Linked DNA regions of Homo sapiens: regions 2, 3, 4, 5, 6 and 7 are each linked to region 1. The links are contacts of gene promoters, found by promoter capture Hi-C in human tissues and cell types (Jung and others, 2019). All regions are on one chromosome and are shown on one strand. The core of a region is centred on a gene start or on the middle of the fragment in contact, and the rest is flanking DNA. Distances in the headings are between cores, read along the strand shown. Region 1 holds the start of UCHL1 (ubiquitin C-terminal hydrolase L1). Region 2 overlaps LIMCH1 (LIM and calponin homology domains 1). Region 3 overlaps LIMCH1 (LIM and calponin homology domains 1). Region 4 overlaps APBB2 (amyloid beta precursor protein binding family B member 2). Region 5 overlaps APBB2 (amyloid beta precursor protein binding family B member 2). Region 6 has its middle 14 kb from the start of LIMCH1. Region 7 overlaps LIMCH1 (LIM and calponin homology domains 1).

Region 1 (2,702 bases), core at 161-2,660:
TTTTTTCTCTCTCATTTTTGTGTGTGAAGGTCATTTTCTAATGGCAAAAATGGAAAGAAAATAGAAGTAGAATGTTGTGGAATCTTAGATAAAGAATGGGCTCTTGGAGCCCAGTTTAGCAGGGTTTACTTCTCAGTTTTACTTTTCAATTGTGACCGTAAGCAAATTAACTTCTCTAGGCCTGGGATTCTGATCTGTAAAATTGCACTAATATGAGTCTCTTCACGGCTCCTCTAAGGATTAAATGAGAGACACATGCAAAGGATCCCCAAAAACAATAACTCAAAAAATGTTGATTCCCTCCCTTCCCTCTGTCATCTGTTAACCTCAACTTCCTAAATAGAAGGTCTATTCTTTTACCATCATCATTATTCTCTTCGGTGCCTATTTTTAAAAAATACTCAACCTTCTTGCTTCCTTCGCTACCTAAGTATTTCTGCAAGCCCACTTTGTTCTGCAGCTTAGCTTTCCTGGCACAATTCTTATAGATTTTGGTCCCTTTTAAAATTCATTCTTCAGCAAATGCTTTCTCTCTCCATCTTTTGACTAGAGATCATTAGAGATCACCTGAGATCATTAGAGAACAGTGGTTTCCTTGGTTGCCATTCCCTTTCTTCTTCATTGGGAGTATTCTGCGGTGAACTCAGACATTTTATTTTTCAAAGCTTCCCATTCTTTTAAAAATGCTTTTCCTTTTACAGCCTCTCGCTCAAAATCATACCCATCTTTTCCCTGGATCTGTTTTCTCAAGTCTCCAATCGCCTGCCTTCTTTGTGTCTTGTATTACCCTCACATCCCCCAGCTTTCTACTGCTCTCCCAGGACCAACCATTTCTTCCGCGGGAGTCACATTACATCAGCATTCCTAATGCAGTATCTGTTATCTACCAGATTCTGTTTTATTCTAGGTAGTCACTTAAAAACGAACCTCGGTACTGGTCTGACTTAACATGGAGGAGGAATTGTCTAAGGTTAAACGCAAACTGCTGAGAGATTTGGGGCGGGGGGCACACATTTACATTCATTCGTATTAAATATATACCTGTTGAATTTGTGCTTTTTCTCAAATGCTTCAGAGACTCGAGCTTTAGAGTAATTGGGATGGTGAAAGGATGGGTTTCCAGAAACTTCGCCCAAAATTAAAGACTCCATCAAAAGGACTGCTCCATACACTCAAGGAACACCCACCAACAAATCCCGTCTCCACAACCACCAGATTATCTCACCGGCGAGTGAGACTGCAAGGTTTGGGGGCCCGGCCGTACCACTCCGCGCTGCGCACGGGGGGTTCGTACCCATCTGGCCGCGACCGTCCGTTTCCCCCTCGCTTGGTTCTGCCCCTGCTCCCCCTGCACAGGCCTCACAGTGCGTCTGGCCGGCGCTTTATAGCTGCAGCCTGGGCGGCTCCGCTAGCTGTTTTTCGTCTTCCCTAGGCTATTTCTGCCGGGCGCTCCGCGAAGATGCAGCTCAAGCCGATGGAGATCAACCCCGAGGTGAGCGCCAGGTGCACCGCTACCCGGAGAGCGCGAGGCCGAGGGAGGGGGAGCCGAGTCGCTGATCGGTTCGGTTTTGCCTTTTTCTTTGCATTTGCCTTTCAGATGCTGAACAAAGTGAGTGGCGTCTCGCGCCGTCTCTGGCCCCCTCCCCCGCGAGCGCCGAGGCGGGGGCGCCCACCGGTTCCGGCTGCTGGCAGGGACCAAGCCGCCCGCTGCGAGCACCGGAGACGGCCGGGCTGGGGCGTGGGCTGGGCGCCTTTCCTGGGCCCCTGCATTTAGCGGGTGACTCTACGAAACCGGTCACGGGGAGACGGAGGGGGCTGCGCCCCGTGGCGAGCGAGCGCCAGGCGGAGCTCCCGAGGGCGTGGCGCGGGCAGCACAGACTCGGCTGCACGGGCTTCGCGGGCGCCACGTGTGGGCCGCGCTTTGTGCTGTGTCATTGCGCCGGCCCGGGTGGGGGTGGCAGGGCGGGACTGGGGCTCCTCCCAGGCTCGGGTGCGGGCGCGGAGGGCGCGCGCCTCCTGGCCCCGCCCCCTGGCAGGTGCCCGCGACCCGCGTGTCCCCGTGCGCCTGGCCGCCTTGTCTCCTCTCCGCAGGTGCTGTCCCGGCTGGGGGTCGCCGGCCAGTGGCGCTTCGTGGACGTGCTGGGGCTGGAAGAGGAGTCTCTGGGCTCGGTGCCAGCGCCTGCCTGCGCGCTGCTGCTGCTGTTTCCCCTCACGGCCCAGGTAGGGCGTGGGGCCCAGGATGCGCCGGCCGCCGGCAGTGCACGCCGCTCCCCAGCTTGAGTCCTCGGGGGCTCCCCGCCCCGCCCCCTCCCCTGTAGGTGATGCGGGGCGCGCCTACAAGGAAGGGAGGAGCCTGCATTTTCGTGGTACCTACTCCCTGGGCTCCTGTTCCAGCGGTGCCTGTCGCCTTCTTGCCCATCCGTCCACAATTGCCTTAAATTTGGAAGAGAGGCAGTATCTCAGTTCCATCTATCCCGTTATCCAGGGAAATCATTCATCCTACTCATGAGTTCCCTCGAACTTGGGCTTTTTCGAGCCTCCGGTTCCGGGGAATGGCTGCTGGTTTCCCTTTAAGGGCTATAACCTGTCAACTCATTGTTTGCTTCTCAGACTCCCACCTAGCTGTAGAATGGAGGGGGAAGGGCTGACCTAAATCGCAGGGAAACAATTAGGTTCGCTAATTCTCCGCCTCCATTACTTGG
Region 2 (2,700 bases), core at 182-2,681, 310 kb after region 1:
ATAAGGAAACTTGTCCACGATCACAAAATTAGTAAGACAGAGCCAGAGTTCAAACCAAAGTCTGTCTCATTCATCCCTGAACTCTTAACCACTAAAGTAGGCATCCCTAGTGGTGAAGACACTAAGGTAGGAGTCAGGCCATATGGGTGGTCATGTCACATTGAGCCCCTCCACATCATCTATGAGGACTGGAATCAACTTATTCCAGACTCTTGTTAATGTTGATATTTTGAGCCTCCCCCAAGAATCACAAATGGTCTTAATGGCATCTAGCATGATGAATCCTTTCCAGAAGGTCTTCAATTTGCTTTGCCCAGATCCATCAGAGGAATCACTATCTATGGCAGCTATAGCCTTACAAATATATTTCTTAGATAATAGGACTTGAAAATTGAAATTACTCCTTGATCCATGGGCTGCAGAGCTTTGAGTGAGGTTTTGAATGTGGGAAAGGCTTTGAATGTGGGGAAGAGATAGGCCTGGGGGAGACATGATGAAATATCAGAATACTGAAGGACAGTTGGGTGAAAGAGAGCCTCAGCATGATGTAGGCAGTTTCCTGGAAGTATACTTAGAACCAATGAGGAGAAGTCACTAGGAGCATCAACATGTTGATACAATGTAAGAATGAGTTTTCTATGATAACTATGTGAAGTGATATGCTAATCATTCTACACAAAATCATTATACAAAAATTGTATAAATTTAAAATGTAGAATGTGATGTTTTGATAAACATCTCATCATACACTTTATACAATTTTTATTTGTTAATTATACCCCATTAAAGCTGGGAATAAACTTAAAAAAAGAAGAGTTTTCTATCACATACAGAGTTATCCGAAGATGGGCTGAAATGCATCAGAAATTGACCACTTCCTTGTTACTGAAGTCTTTCAAGCCTAGACTGGGCAGCTTCATCATGAGGACTGAATCATTGTCAATCCTATAATTCTTTGATCCCAATCAGCAGTGCTCTTATAAGTGCCCATCAGAATACTTGCAAAACCTACCTGCTCAAACTCCTCTATTCTTAAAGCTGTTCTTCCTTTCACCAAGTTCTGAGAACTAGCAAGGGCTCTGCCCAGTGGTGTGTCATAGCACAGTACAAAACTGATGGGTCTGCATAAGAAGGCAGAATAAAGGATGCTGAGGTTAAGGGGGGGACCTGCTTGGATTTGAACCCTGTCTCGTCACTTGCTGTGCATACATGCTGAAGTTACTCTACCTCTCTGTGCCTTGGTTTCCTCATATATTATGCTGTACATGGGATAATATTAAAATGAAAGTGTTTTTAAGATTAATGAGATAATACATTTAAAGCCCTCAGAACAATGCCTGGCATGTTTGAGATATTCAGTAAGTGTTTTTGTTGGCTTTATAAGCACGTCAGCAAAACTTTTTTTAACTTTTGACTTGCTCTCAGCCAAATAAGTAAAGTATTTATGCAAAAATAATCATGACAAGGTCAATAGTAGCAGCAATAGTAGTAATATATGACTGAGGCAGAATTAAATTCCAGAGCCCATACTTTTAACTACCTACTTAGGGTTAGGTACTGAGTTAGGTGCTATACTTGAATTATCTCCTTTATTCCCTAGGAAAACCTGGTAGGTAAGTGTTACTGCATTTTATAGATGAGGAACCTGGGGCTTAGACAGATTATGTAGTTTGCCCAGTATTACCAATAAGTGCACAGAAAGGCATGATTAGAATCCAGGTCTTTTTGTGTTTATCTTTGGAAGTATTGCTACACTTGTTTGGTAGTAATAAATAGCTCTTTTTTTAGAAATCTTGTGCTTAAGTGGCATCAGAAAAGATGATAAGTTCATTTCACCTCCCAGGTAATGTCCTTAAAATTGGCAGCTATAGGCCGGGCGTGGTGGCTCATGCCTGTAATCCCAGCACTCTGGGATGCCAAGACAGGCGGACCACGAGGTCAGGAGTTCGAGACCAGCTTGGCCCACATAGTGAAACCCCGGCTCTACTAAAAATACAAAAATTAGCCAGGCATGGTGAAACCCACCTGTAATCCCAGCTATTTAGGAGCCTGAGGCAGGAGAATCTCTTGAACCCAGGAGACAGATGTTGTAGTGAGCCGAGATTGCACCACTGCACTTCAGCCTAGGCGACAGAGCGAGACTCCTTCTCAAAAAAGAAAAAAGCAGCTATGACGGTTACTTAAATGGGCAGTAAAATGGCATTTGAGGAATAAATGGTCAATAGGATCCAGTATTTACAACCATAATTGATAGTGAAATTACAGACTCATCACTAAGAAAGCTTTCCTATCACTTTACAATAAATTGTGTAATCTGAAAATAATTTTAAAACAAAAAGTTATCAAGGTCCAGCTTCAGGAGAGCCAACGTGACAGCTGACCTGATGCACCGGAGTTACAACACAAGAACTGTTGCATTCCCTTGCAATGGTGTGTCATGGGTTTGATCCACATGCACACAGAGTATATGTATTGAAAACAGTGGTGACATAATGTTCTACTTATTTTTGGATCTAGATTTCTTCAAAAACTAATGCGAGAAAAATACTCTAAAATGGATGATTTCTTCTGGCTATCCTTCAGAAAGACTGAATGAGAAAAATATGATGCTGCTAAAATAGGCCAAAATGTTGATGAAATGTCTGTGGATATTGGAGGATATACTCAAATGTAAATTGTCTCCTTTGTCATAAAATAAGG
Region 3 (2,700 bases), core at 21-2,520, 290 kb after region 1:
ATAAGCAACTAGCCTGTCTTTGTTTTCATCAGCATGTTTTTTGGTGACTAATATGTTGATTTGATGAAAGCTAATTGCACAAACATGCGGTTTGTGGGGAAGAAGGTAACGCATGGAACTATGTCTAAGAGATGTGGGTGTTCATTCCATTGGTGGATCCAGCACTTTCTTCCTCAATAAAGAGTATTTGTTCCTAAAATAACTGGTGTCCTTCAAGGCACAGAATGTCTAACTCAGCTGAAGGTATTTAATTTATATTATAAATGTACATATATATTTTATGAATTTTAATAGAAATATATTAATTTACATTTATAAGTTTAAACATAAAAACATAAAATACATGAAATATGTTTGAGTGTATTGTTAGGGACATCTCTGAGCTCCTGTGGAGATAGTGTTTTTTCCCTAACATAACTTACATTTAAGAAAATTGGATTTTTCATGAAATTTACTCAAGTAAGACTGTAGGCTGAGTTTAATATATATGACAACTAAACTTTCGGCCCATATTGCACCAAATTAAAGCTTTCTTCTTTGTCTTTGAGCACAAGAATGAAAGCTGGCATACTGTCCGGTAGACTGAAATGTGTCCTCATGGTCATTTTGACCACCTTATGAGCATGATTAATTGACAACATGTTGTTACTATCTTAATTCTTTGGTCTGAGTCTCAGCTCCCGTGTCAGACCTCTGAGTCCCAAACATAGCGCCACAGTCTGGGTCTTCACATCTTGGCCAGGTTTCTGTTAAAAAAACAAAGGCGCCTCTGTGTTATACTTTTATGGAGCACATGTGGTGTGTATTTATTTTGTGATAGGTTTTTATCACTTGGTAGAAAGATGTTACTGTATCTTAAGTGAACGATTGTTTCACCCTGTTGCTCCACAGACCCTAGTTGTTTCTTTAAAATGGGCGATGGATTTTTAGGGGCGTATTCACAAACCTGCCATGAAAGTCTTTCTTCTCCAGATGTTTACTTCTATATTTTTATGTGAAATTCAACTTTTTCACCTATGGACATGCTTCCCTGCAGCAAATAACATGACAAACTCTTTGCCTTTATATTGTCTTTATATTTCAGATACCCCCCCACCCCCACCAAGCCTTCTCAATTCCAAACCTGTGATTATGCTGGATGCTTTACGTGTTATGCTCCGGCTTGTAATGGGCCAACTGAAAGATAAACTGCTATTAAATAAATCTATGACTCTTTTGAGAACAAATAGAGCTGTTGAAAGAGTTTAAAAACATAGTGACTCCTCGAAAGACTGTGAACATTCTTGAACCCTTTGAATCAAAGTGAATTTTCTTCACTCTCTGTGTGTGGGTATACACTGAAACTTATAAGAAAGAACCTCAGTAGCAAGATATTTGAAGGCTTTTGTGTTCTTAACCCTGCAAGGTTTTTCTTGGCAAGACTTGAAGAAAATGTAGCTGTCGTCTATTTTCTGCTCCTGTCGAGGGGAGCAGTTGAGTCTGGGAGGCCTCTAATGTGTCAGAGAGAAGCCTGCAGAGTAGAGAAGAGCCCAGAAGCCTCCAGGTGCCCAGTGGTTCCCTAATTATTCCATTACCTAGTTACCTGGTTTTCTATTACCTAGTTACCTAGTTATTCCATTCCATTCCACCTCCTCTCCAAGCAAGGCTGGGTGGTTCTTCTATTTTGATCTCTTCTCATGTGTCTCTGTTGCTGTGGAGCTGCAACATCAAAGCCTACCCCAGACCACACGTGTCTTCTGTTGCCACCACGTTTCCCTCTGGACACTGGATCAGCCTTACTGCCATTAGGATGCTTATGCTTCCTAGAAAGCCTCATTTATCTGTGCTGGGGCAGCTGCTGAGGACTACACAAGATTCACTGTCATGGGTTTAGCTTTCAGGGACTCCCCAACTTGCCTAAGTTACCTCTTGGGTCCTTGATTGAAACTCCAGTTGCCAAGTAATGAAGATACAGAATTTTGCATTGATCTCTCTTCCCTTTTCCATCTTTCCTGTTTCCATTCTGAAAGGAACTGCTCTGAACTGGCAAATGCCTACAGGGACTTCAGTGTCATAGGACAGGCTACTTTGACTCCTTTGTATAACCTCAAAGTCACTGCCAATACAAGGGTAAAACAGATTCTGTTCTTTGTACTCAAATTCAGTGTGATGTGAGTTGGAATGCTAAGAAAAACTTAAGAGATATTTTTAGCAAAAATGAAATATTTTGATGCCTATCGCTCACCTGAAAATTTTCCCAGATTTGCCATTTCTAGATTTTTAGCAGCTTCACAAAGGGGTATTGTGTTTGAGTCGGAAGAGAAAAATGTTTTTATTTCCTGTCCTTGACGTTTAGTGGAATTGATAAAAAGCATCAAGGATCTTTGAGTTCTGGATCTCCTGCAAAAAAACACATTATGTAAGAAAGGACTTGAGTGTTTTTTTCCTGTTCGTCAGTACGAGGGGAGAGTTACTGTGGAAAGTGAAGGGCAGTGATCATCAGGAATGGAAAACAAAGAGCTTTGCTAGAAAATCACAGCAAGGGTGATCAAGCAGTTACCCTATTATCTGGCTCTAAACTTAATGTTGACCTCGACAACGACTTTTACATCCTCCCCCCAAACAGGCTCCTTTACTCATTCCTGAAAGGACACTGTTGCAACTTGAGTTATAGGGTTGTTGGAGCTACCTGATGTTTTATTAAATGGTTATTTAATCAAT
Region 4 (2,745 bases), core at 54-2,553, 410 kb before region 1:
AGTGTGTATTTTGAGCCACATTATGATGAAGCCAAGAGATGCCAGCTGAATTTACAGAGGCAACATATCAACTGGGGGAGGTAATCAAGCTTAAAATATCACAGTCAAATACAGGAAACTGTTTGCAGTAAACACTGGCAGAGGACGTGTCTTCATTTTCCAGTTCCACCTGCTCCCAATAAAAAACATACAGAAACAACGGCATGGACATAGCCTTACCTGTTTTACCGACATTCCTGACACTCTATTAACAGAGCCACATCACTGGAATCCAGGCACTTTTCCTGAGATGCATCCTTACAGGGCAACAGGGAGGGAGGGAGGCAGCACAGGTCAAGGGCGGGTGGGAAGTGGGAGAGACAGGAGATGACAGCTCAATGGGGGAGAGATCAGAGACGTCCCAGGAAAGAGAGGAATGGAACGGAGAGAGGAACACAGTGCAAGTCTGGTTGGGGCCACACTCTTGGAGTTCCCTCCCTGAGCTACCCAGAGCTGTCCTGAGCTGCCTGGGACCCTAATGAAGTCACTTAATCCCCTGACCCATGGTGCTCACACCATTCCTTTCTGGCATTGTCACAGCCGATTTGCATGCACCGTACACAGAGCAACTAGACCGAAGAGCATGGAGCACTGGATAGATAACGAGGAGGAAAGGAAGAAACCCAATGTTTACAGAAACCCGTTCTCTCGGGCACTCTATGGCCAGGGTCATGGAGCGGCCAGCAGGGCCCTGCAGGGATGGAGCTAAAATCATGGCATGAAACGCCAAGTGCACCAGACAGTGAACCACAAAGTCATTAAGTGGAAAGGAAGAGCTGCTCACCCTGAGGCGGAACAATGACCATGGCACACTAGTAAGTGGAGCAAAAACAAAGCCAAGCTGTTTTTATAAAACAAGCATGGTCTTATAAAAACAACAAAATGTTTGCATGTGTATTTTAATATATACACAGTAAAAAACTTGGAATATAATACCCGAACTGTCAACTGTAATATGGAAAGAGGATTATGGAGGATTTTACTTTATCTCTTTGAAAATTATACAATAAGCACATTTGACTTTTGTGATAAAATATGCAAATATCTACCTCAGTACTGAAGGAAAGCCATTGTGATCAGCATGCCCCAGGGCAGTTAACAGGACTAATATTAATGATTACAGTAACACCAGCCACCAATTACCCTTTATTGAGCTCTGTTTGGCCCCTAACAGTAACTGGACAAGGTCAGTATTACTGTTCTGACAGATGAGGAAACAAGTTCAGAGAGGCTAAGACACTTGGCCAAGGTCACACAGCTACTACATGGGGAAGAGAGTTTGACAGTAGGCTGCAGGACTCGAATTCTAGTCTTAGATGCACCCATGATGGGTACTCCACCCTTCTACACAGTCCTGCAGAGCCCCCTAATGGTTTGTCTCCTAAATGGCAAACACAGTCCCTAGGCACAGGTATTCAAGGTAGGGCCAAAGGGTTTGGCCAAGAACCTAGGGTTTTAGAGGAACAGGGAACATTCCTCTCTTTTGGTGAACTTTTGTAGGGAAAGAGGTGGCTAAAAATTCCTAAGAGGATCTTTGGGCTGAAGAGGCAGACACAGCTGTGCTCAAATCCAGATGGGTAGCCACATTCCTTCAAGTACACTGCTTACCTTCTCTTTATTTACCCAACATAGATTTCCAGGGCCCCTCTGTGTGCCAGGCACACTGTGTTACATGGTATGCCCCACAAAACCTGTTTCCTCATCATTGAAGAGGGGATAAGGACACCTGCTCATGCTCATAATGCTCAGGGGCATTATAAGCATGAAGTTAAATGGGACGACACGTGTATGGGAGTGCTGGGCATGTAACAAAGCTGCAATAACCTGCAACGTTAACAGCTATTATCACTGTGTCATCCAATAGCTTCATCTCTTCGGCTGGGTTGTGCTGGGCAGCATTTGAGATGGACTGTCTCCCACGGAAGGACAGTCACCTGGGGGAGTGGCAGGGGCCCTCTGCTCAGGTTTGCTGGACCCCAGCTGATACAGGATGCTGGAGAGTCACCCCTTGGCTCAGGTCCCTCTGTGCTACTCGGTTCCACCTATCAAAGCCAGGCTTGGGTAGCAATTTACAAGATCAGCAAAGGACCCAGAGACCTGGATGCTGGTCCCAGTCTGAATCCACAGCTGGGTAACATTATGCAAGTCACACAACCTCCCTAATTCTTGGGTTCCTAATCTCAGAATGGATGTGCTAGGAACTTCTTAGTGCTCAGATTTTTATCAGAAAAGGATATGTTAGTGCTTTGACTTGCTTTTAATTACACCAAATGTTTTCAATTTCTTATTTTTAATAAAAAGCCTATCTGTAGTGTGTGACAAAAACTTTAAAAATCTAACAATCTGAGAATACAACCTGTTTCTTTTGTGTATAATTATTATTGTAGTCTTGGATATTTTAAATCAGATCCACTGCTAGTGATTCACTTAAAAACATACCATCAAGATGTAGCTACTGTGTTTTTCCCTGAAAGCAGACTTGGAAAAAATGCTACTGCAAACTTTTAACACAGTTAATTCATTTGGAGTTAATAAACACTGCTTGATTTAAGTATCAAAGTGAAAACCAGCCATAAATAAGACACCGCAGAGTGATATTTGAAATGTCATTCAGAAACCCAGAAGAGTCACAGACAGTGCCAGCAGCTCCACCAATTCAGCACCTTGTAAATTTGCTGGGAAGAAAACATCAGTCCAAAGCTGGGC
Region 5 (2,700 bases), core at 23-2,522, 390 kb before region 1:
GATTCTGAAGGCAGACAAGGAATATACGTGAAATGAAAAAAATTCTAAGAATAAAAGACTTTGATATTTCTTGGTTTAGATCTTTGTATTAATTTCTTTGCCAATTATATAATTGCTTACTTTTCTTAACAGGCTTATTACCTAGGAAGGCTTGTGGTATTTATTACTAAATACCTAGTATTTAGTAAATATTCTATATATTCCTGTAGAAATAGGAAAATATGAGGTCAAAGCAGGCCCCAGTCACCCCATTCTGCTTGTGGGTATCTCCTGAAATGAACAGAGTATGAATGAATATGGACTACATTTCACAACCTTCAAGTTTAAATGGAAGAGAGAAAAAACATTCAAGTGTCTAAAAACTTAGGTACCAAATCACGTTATACATCATTTTGGGGGAAGACATCATTCTCTGGCAATAAACCGCTCACCCATGAAATGAAATAATCCTTCTAGGAAAGAATGATTCATTATTTAATAAACATTTGTCTGTTTTTGACTTCACTAAGAAAAATAAATGGGAGGAAATGCTCCAGGAATCTCAACAAGCAGCCTCCTCTGCCTCCAGCCCACTGTGCCCACCACTGCCAGTGCAGATGAGGGAGGGCAGAGTGAGGGGCAGCGCAGAGGGAGGGACAACATTCTCTTCTGAGTGCTCACCAGGGGACAGGGACCCGTGCCAAGCCCTCTCCCATTTAATATCTTACAACCAAGCTGCATCGGGGTTCCAAAGCTTCCATCTCTACACAAGAGGGCCCTGGGGCACAGTGTGTAACTGGCTCAGGGTCAGCCAGCTAACAGAGGCAGATCAGGAAGCCAACCGGTGTGCCTCACTCCAAAAGCCCTTTCATTTAAGAAGTCATATAATCTGTACCACCTAGAGGAGAGACAGCTGGGTGAGGAAGATGGAGGAGCAAAGCTGGGTAGCAGAAGGGGCTTCCACTGCCCTAACTGTAGAAGGCTGAAAAATATCCCAAAGAAATCAGGTCCTAATCCCTGGAACCTGCAAATGTTACCTTATAGGTATTATATACATATATGTGTGTGTGTGTGTATACACACTCTTTTTTTTTTTTTTTTTGGAGACCAAGTCTCACTCTCACCCATGCTGGAGTGCAGTGGCACGATCCCGGCTCACTGCAAACTCCGCCTCCCAGGTTCAAGCGATTCTCCTGCCTCAGCCTCCCGAGTAGCTGGGATAACAGGTGCATGACACCACACCCAGCTAATTTTGTATATTTAGCAGAGATGAACTCCCCACCTCTGGGGATCTACCCGCCTTGGCCTCCCAAAGTGCCGGGATTACAGGGGTGAGCCACCACCGCGCCCAGCCATACATATATATATATGTGTAAGTGTCTCTCAGAAGGACACTTATGACTGGATTTAGGTCCCACTCAGGTAATCCAGGATAATATCCTCAGGTCAAAATCCTTAACTTAATCACATCTGTGAAGACCCTACTACCCCGCACCCGTTTATTTTTTTTGAGACAGAGTCTCACTCTGTTGCCCAGGCTAGAGGGCAATGTTGCAGTCTTGGCTCACTGCAACCTCCACCTCCTGGGTTCAAGTGGCGATCCTCCCGCCTCAGACTCCTGAGTAGCTGGGACTACAGGCAAGAGCCATCATCCCCAGTTAGTTTTTGTATTCTTAGTAGAGACGGGGTTTTGCCACGTTGGCCAGGCTGGTCTCGAACTCCTGGCCTCAAGTGATCCGCCCGCCTTGGCCTCCCAAAGTGCTGGGATTACAGGCATGAGCCACCGCACCCGGCCTCAACTCCTTTTCTGAAGTTTCCTCTTCCTTCCCTCATGTGGGCCTCTGCACAAGGTAATTGGAGTGTCCATATTAACAGCTAAAAGGAGTAGGAACACTGACCCATTAATTTAGAATTCATGGTTTCAGACACGGTTCAGCCACATTTTTGTATAAAACTGATTAAGTCGTGTAAAAGTTCTAGGTCTCAGTTTCCTCATCTGTAAAAGGGACATAATGCTACACCCTGTAGTCCTGAAAGGACTAATGGAGATAGACCCTCAGTAAACCATAAAGCATTGTGTCAAAACATGCACAGAGTTCTGATTATTCTCCCCTCATTCTCCCCTTCAGATAATCAAAAGTACTTTTAAGCATCTAATATAAGGATAACATCATGTTGAAGCACACACAAGGAAATCTAAGATATGGTGATGGCTGTCAAGGAATTCACAGTCTAACCAGGGAGACACACATCTGTGACATTAGTGACAACCCGAGGTTGAAGAGATCTAGTACAATGAATATATGCATGACTACAGAGCTGAAAGACAGCACAGGGCATGGTGTGCTGTGAAGATTCACTCCCATTTGTAGGGGTGGCGTATATTTCCCCAACCCTTGAAGTGAGGCGCAGTTACGCATCTTGCTTTGCCAATGAAATGTGAGCAAAAGCGCTAAGCATCATTTCCAGCAGAAATGTTCAGTCAGCGCATCTTTTCCTTCTGCCACCATTGTTGCCAATATTGTAGTCTAGATTGTGACTTTATCATCAGCTTTAGACAGAGAATGAGGACAATGACAAAGGAAGCCGTGTCTTCAGCCAACCCACCATGGACTTTTAGCAGAAAGAATTGTTATAAGCCACTGAGATTTTTGGTTGTTATTACAGTCTAACCTAGCCTGTGCTGAAGGACACGAACGGTGACAGAAAGGCTAACAGAAC
Region 6 (2,700 bases), core at 17-2,516, 270 kb after region 1:
GCAGCATGTTGGAATTGCAGTGAAAATTACCGAGAACAGCCAATTAATCTTGCATGCAAAAATGGAATATCCTGTCTGTCACAATCACTGTAGGGACATTTCTCAACATATGAATATATGGTGGTATCAAAGTCAAAGATAGTCTAAATTCAAGACTATTAAACCATTTGAAAAATTTTTGTTACTGATCTGTAGAAATCTGGCAAGCACAGGTTCTTTATAATTTGTTATAACCTTGGATTGCATGAATTTTAACAGAGGTCAGCAAACTTTTTCCATAAAGCATCAAATAGTAAAGATTTTATGCTTTGTGGCCCCTCAGGTCTCCATTGTAACTACTCAACTCTGCAGTTGTAGCACAAAAGTAGCCATAGACAATATGTAAATGAATGAGGATGGTTATATTCCTGTTCCAGTAAGACTTTATTTATAAGTACAGGTGTTGGACCAGATTTGGCTCATGGATTGTAGTTTGTTGACCTCTCAATTATGATACACTCCTACCCTAAGTTTCTCTTTGCACAGTATTCTAAGTTACCTAATTGCCTGATTCCCGAACGTGGAAATAACATTCTACATTCTACAGCCCCTTACCTTCAATCACTTATTTATGAATAACCTACTTTGCAAATACTACACTTTACCCAATTACCCCGATGCTAACCATATTTTAATTTTATAAGTTGCTTTCCTTGTTTCTCTTCACTCTGGGTTTTTATGTCCTGAAAACAGGCAATGATAGTTGTTTCTCTTGCATTCCCTTGCTTGTGTAACCATTGTTATATAATTTCAATCTTTAGCTGAAAATCTTTTGCTCAAATATCTTTTGTACCTAGGGACTCTTGGTTAGCCTTGTTTAAAATCTTCAGAATATGATTGGCTAACCTCTTATTAAACACATTCTTCCCTTTTTAAAGTGAAACTCAACCACATTGAAAAAGCCACTCTTCTCAAAGAGCAAGTAGGGTCTGACTTAGAATGTGTCTTGGCGAATCATTTGTAAAGATAGAAACTGGTCTTTGAATTTAGTGCATCCCTGGAGAGATCCATGTCTTAGCCAGGAAAATTGGCAACAAGCCTTACCTGAGTTGTAATACCTGGTTCCAGTTCCAGATAATTCCCTCACAACCTCAATCCAGCTCTCCCCCTTGTCCTTTTCCTTGAAGCCCTCCTCAGTCTCTACCTTTTCTCATCTCTCAACATTTCTAAATTCTAAAACTTCACCTGCCGTGGACCAACTTGATGTTGGCAAAGCTCTTCACTTATATGCATGAAGGCTGATAGATTATTGAGATTTACTATATGCTTTAAATTCACTGCTTTTCCTATCCAGCAATTTAGCTGTAGCCCCGGATAAAGGTGATTTGTGTGATCCATCTTGCTTTATGTCTCACTTGACATTCTGCCTTTTTCATGACAGGTTGCTGAATGCTATAAAGCCAGGACTTGTTAAAAAGATCAATAGATTGCCTACCCCCATTGCAGGACTGGTGAGTACGTGGAATTGAGATTTATTTTCCAATATTCCTTTGCTCTAACCTAGGGGTCATGACAGCACCATTTATTACAGTTCTCTCCTGCAATATATATTCCACTTGAATGAGAACGCATTGAATCCATTAAACGAAGAGGTCACTTAAAATGAAAGATTGCAGTCATGCCTAAATGGCATGTTAATCTTTGTTTGTGTTTTTTCCATGAGTGATAAGGACCTTCATTCTCAAAGAGCTAAATTTGTTTTGGTGTGAGAGGCTGATAATTAGGTTGACCCTTGGGGGAGGAATGTGATTTTAATTACGTTTTCTCATTTCAGTTCATCACTGCATTCCCCTAGAATGGAGGGTAGGGGAGGTAGAGAGAAAGAGAATTTTAAGAGAAAACAGTCGTTTTATAATAAATTGCTGCTTTCAATATTATAATCTACTTGGGTTGAAATACCACAATTGTAGGCCAACTATCCTGAAGACATACTGGGGCACTAAGGTGGTCTAACGTCATCTGGAGAACTGTTTAAGCAGAATCCTTGCCCTTCTGAACCTATCCACATAAAATCTAAAACTTACATGTTCATATGTGGTTAGAAGCAGAATATTTTTTTCATGCGTTGATATGTCTTATAATTCTTGGCAACTAATTTTTTAATTGCTTCATCGATGTTGCCTTTGTGTAGAAAAAGGAAAGAAGTAGAAGATGAGGAAGACAATCAAATCTTAGTTTTGGAAGGAATTGGCATATGTGTGTGTGCGTGCACACGCGCGCGCACACACACACACAGAGCAGAGGAAGTATGTAGCTCGGTAATGACTCACTGATTGTTTCCATTGTGATCGCCTTCTGCGCATGTAGTTTTGCAGAAAGCAATGAGAAGAATGTCAAGAATTTAAGCAGGATCCTACGTAGACCTTACTGATTGTTGTTAAAAAGCTTCTTAGCCATATCACGATGACTAATTGAAATTAGATGTGACAAAAAACCAATTGTGTTTGAGAATTGTGGGGGGTCCTTGTGGGAAGGTACATGGTTTCAGCAAGTTGAATGAAATAGATGTTTTCTTTAAGAACTGCTATTTCTGTGGATGCATTTTATTCCCCATATTGGTTGGTAGTGAGCTGGTGATTAGTCGTTAAAAATCTTTCTAATTTTGTTCTTCAGAATCATGTAACCAAATAAGTTAGTTAATATCGAGATAGATACATATAT
Region 7 (2,753 bases), core at 29-2,528, 350 kb after region 1:
TAGTTACCATTTACTGGCTGGGAAAAGCAGCAAACAGCTGCACATCCTACAGCGGAACGACACTAAACCTGAAGGAGTTTGAAGGATTGTTGGCTCAGATGCGAAAGGTAACTTGGCTTTTCTTCTTTATCCCATAAGCGTTAGACAAGGTGGGAAAGCTACACATTTGCTTGTTTTTAAGATTACTAGAGTACTGGGTTGTGGAATGGTATGAGCCAAAGATATGCACTCAAGGAAACGATCACTTGTCTTACCAATGACATCTTTGCCTCATGCATGTCACACCTACCTGCACTTTCATACCCTTCAGAGAACAGGAGTTCTGAGCTCCATCCAACTTTTTAATTCCAAAAAAGCAAATTCAATCTATCAGTATATGCCTTTGTATGCCAAGATGCTCAGTGCTTGTTTTCTTGGGGGAATAATGCTTGAATTAAACAATGCAGTATTATGCAAAAATGAAGACTCGCTCTGCACTTTTGTGCTAAAGGGCATTTTGCTTACCCACTGGGGCCTTGATGTGGGTGAGGTAACGTGAACCAAGCTCTTACCTTGGCATACGCTCTGGACAAGGCGGGATACATTAAATGCATTCTCCTCTAACATGTGCATGTTATAGCCACTGTTTTTGAATGACATAGGAATTTGGAAAACATTTCATACATTGTTAAAAGCTTCATTTGTTTCTTTGAGTATAGAAAAGACTGACCTAAGGTAGGGATTTGTCAAGGAAACAGTTGAATGTTTCATGTGTACTACTTGCCTGAATGTTTCATCTGAAGGTCCAGCAATATACAACTCATACAAATGGCTAGTACATAGTGTTACCCAGGAGAGGCCCTCCCAACCCGCCTTAGTGTACAGGTAAGGCTTATTTATAATGGACCTCCATGTACTTTTTTAATTATTTTATTTTTTTGAGATGGATTCTTGCTGTGTCGCCCAGGCTGGAGTGCAGTGGCGCAATCTCAGCTGACTGCAACGTCCGCCTCCCAGATTCAAGTGATTCTCCTGCCTCAGTCTCCCGAGTAGCTGGGATTATAGGCAGCCACCACTAAGCCTGGCTAATTTTTGTATTTTTAGTGGAGACAGGGTTTCACCGTGTTGGCCAGGCTGGTCTTGAACTCCTGACCTCAGGTGATCCACCCACCTTGGCCTCCCAAAGTGCTGAGATTGCAAGTGTGAGCCACCGCACCCGGCCCCTCCAGGCATTTTGGATAAAGTCCACATTAGAGGACAAATAATTGAGGCCTTACTCTTCCTCATTTCTCTAGTATGCAAAATAAATGAACTAGAAACATTCAGTTCCTTGCAATTTTTCTTTTAATACTGAAAGCAAGAATTGGTTCCAATTTTCTAAACATTTATTTTCCTTTCCTTAAATTAAAGCTAATGGTCCTGATAGTTCTTCACATTTGGCTAAGGCCAGTCTGGCTCATGTATTTATAAATGGCCAAAGCTTTCATATTGGTCATAACGCACATACACAAGGTACTTTAAGCTGAATTCCTTTAAAAATTAAATAAACACAGACACACAATGAAGCACAACTCATTGCTTCTCAGTCTCACCTCTTATTTGCCCTTTAATTTCTCATCTAACATCCAGTCTGGATTTGAGATGTCTAAATGTTTATTGTTTTTATATTAAATTTGGACTTGAATAATAATAGATGGGTCATGAAGCTTTGTCTCACAGTTCCCCTGCTAGATTCTGTTGGAATCTGATTTATTCTCATGATTGACATTTCTTACTACTAGTCCAGCTCCTGTAGAATCTGAGCAGCTATTGGTTTCTTCAACTCTCCTAGCTTCTCTTTCTACAGTTAGTTTCTTCAACTGCTGTAAAATGACCTGTTGTTAACAGCTGTTACCCTTTTTGTTGAATGTAGGTAACATCACAGGACATGGTGGAGTAAGTAGTATCCCTGGATACATGACTCTTAGCAAAAATGGCCAGCCATGATACTGCCATATCTCCATCTAGAGAGAAAATGACTTGAACTTCACTGGACTATCTGAGCACCTGGAAATACTAGTTTTATATGTGATATATATAATCTCATTTTGTCAGTTAGGATCGGGTTCAGCTGGGAAACACAAAAGCCTCAAAATAACAGATAAAATAAGACAACAATTTTATTTCTAATTCACATAAATGAGACGTGGACATGAGCAGTCCAGGGCTGATGTGGGGTTCCATGTCTTTTCACCAACAGAAGGCCCAAGCTTCTTTGTCTTTTTGTACCAACAACCTCAACCCATGGCTGTTCACCTGCTGATCCAAGATGGCTGTTCAGGCTTTAGCCATCATGTCCACATTCAGCCAAGAAAAGGGAGGAATGGCGGGGAGAAGATTCCATGCTCTCCCTTTAAACACACCTCTGGGAAATTACACACTACACACATAGCTACATCTTACAGACTTGAACTTGGTCATGCATCCATATCTAGCTGCAAGCAAAGACTTGGGGAAAGTAGACTTTATTTCAGCTAAAAACTGTAGGCATTTTTGTTAGGAGAGCAGATATTGAGGGACAACTGTAATCTCTTCTGCACATATGCAGGCTGAAATAAATTTGAAATTAGTTTTTTTTCTTTCACAAAGGAGATTATCCACAAATTTTTATATTCATTTTTCTAGTGGGTGAAATGTGCATAAAAATGATTCACTAGGGTGCAACTTGTTAAGTTCTATAGTAAAGGTGACCCAGGTAGAGCCCTTGGCATAAAGTCTGGCATGTAGTAGGTATT

The links. Contacts are between HindIII fragments. The study calls those that stand out against the background at their distance.
Region 2: a contact is called between a fragment that was not itself captured here and the fragment with the promoter of UCHL1 in region 1, in 1 of the 25 tissues and cell types used here (hippocampus).
Region 3: a contact is called between a fragment that was not itself captured here and the fragment with the promoter of UCHL1 in region 1, in 3 of the 25 tissues and cell types used here (aorta, dorsolateral prefrontal cortex and mesendoderm cells).
Region 4: a contact is called between a fragment that was not itself captured here and the fragment with the promoter of UCHL1 in region 1, in 3 of the 25 tissues and cell types used here (IMR-90 fibroblasts, aorta and hippocampus).
Region 5: a fragment that was not itself captured here is called in contact with the fragment with the promoter of UCHL1 in region 1 in 2 of the 25 tissues and cell types used here (dorsolateral prefrontal cortex and mesenchymal stem cells).
Region 6: a contact is called between a fragment that was not itself captured here and the fragment with the promoter of UCHL1 in region 1, in 2 of the 25 tissues and cell types used here (mesenchymal stem cells and mesendoderm cells).
Region 7: a fragment that was not itself captured here is called in contact with the fragment with the promoter of UCHL1 in region 1 in 4 of the 25 tissues and cell types used here (H1 embryonic stem cells, dorsolateral prefrontal cortex, hippocampus and 1 more).

What each region holds. Positions count from the first base shown.
Region 1 is chr4:41,255,518-41,258,219 of GRCh38, forward strand. UCHL1 (ubiquitin C-terminal hydrolase L1) reads left to right here and starts at 1,411. Exons shown (of 9, transcript NM_004181.5): 1 at 1,411-1,492; 2 at 1,598-1,609; 3 at 2,092-2,220. The coding sequence starts at 1,460. UCHL1-DT (UCHL1 divergent transcript) reads right to left here and starts at 1,210. Exons shown (of 3, transcript NR_102709.1): 1 at 1,042-1,210. RefSeq lists a silencer at 1,527-2,286 and an enhancer at 2,121-2,621. The HindIII fragment of the contact is 4,741 bases long and covers 1-2,702 here.
Region 2 is chr4:41,566,003-41,568,702 of GRCh38, forward strand. The region is part of intron 1 of LIMCH1 (LIM and calponin homology domains 1); the gene reads left to right. LOC105374423 (a long non-coding RNA gene) reads right to left here. Exons shown (of 4, transcript XR_001741667.2): 1 at 1-2,700. Among named protein-coding and RNA genes, the nearest start is that of LIMCH1, 29 kb to the left of the region's middle. The HindIII fragment of the contact is 6,043 bases long and covers 1-2,700 here.
Region 3 is chr4:41,542,991-41,545,690 of GRCh38, forward strand. All of the region lies in intron 1 of LIMCH1 (LIM and calponin homology domains 1), which reads left to right. It overlaps LOC105374423 (a long non-coding RNA gene), which reads right to left. Exons shown (of 4, transcript XR_001741667.2): 3 at 2,225-2,379; 4 at 464-746. Among named protein-coding and RNA genes, the nearest start is that of LIMCH1, 6.2 kb to the left of the region's middle. The HindIII fragment of the contact is 5,731 bases long and covers 1-2,700 here.
Region 4 is chr4:40,842,558-40,845,302 of GRCh38, forward strand. All of the region lies in intron 12 of APBB2 (amyloid beta precursor protein binding family B member 2), which reads right to left. Among named protein-coding and RNA genes, the nearest start is that of NSUN7, 94 kb to the left of the region's middle. The HindIII fragment of the contact is 6,536 bases long and covers 1-2,745 here.
Region 5 is chr4:40,869,671-40,872,370 of GRCh38, forward strand. The region is part of intron 12 of APBB2 (amyloid beta precursor protein binding family B member 2); the gene reads right to left. Among named protein-coding and RNA genes, the nearest start is that of NSUN7, 120 kb to the left of the region's middle. The HindIII fragment of the contact is 6,921 bases long and covers 1-2,700 here.
Region 6 is chr4:41,522,989-41,525,688 of GRCh38, forward strand. It overlaps a transcript of LIMCH1 not described here. Among named protein-coding and RNA genes, the nearest start is that of LIMCH1, 14 kb to the right of the region's middle. RefSeq lists an enhancer at 2,055-2,654. The HindIII fragment of the contact is 6,965 bases long and covers 1-2,700 here.
Region 7 is chr4:41,605,898-41,608,650 of GRCh38, forward strand. LIMCH1 (LIM and calponin homology domains 1) reads left to right here. Exons shown (of 32, transcript NM_001330672.2): 4 at 1-107. The coding sequence starts at 99. Among named protein-coding and RNA genes, the nearest start is that of LIMCH1, 69 kb to the left of the region's middle. The HindIII fragment of the contact is 3,635 bases long and covers 1-2,753 here.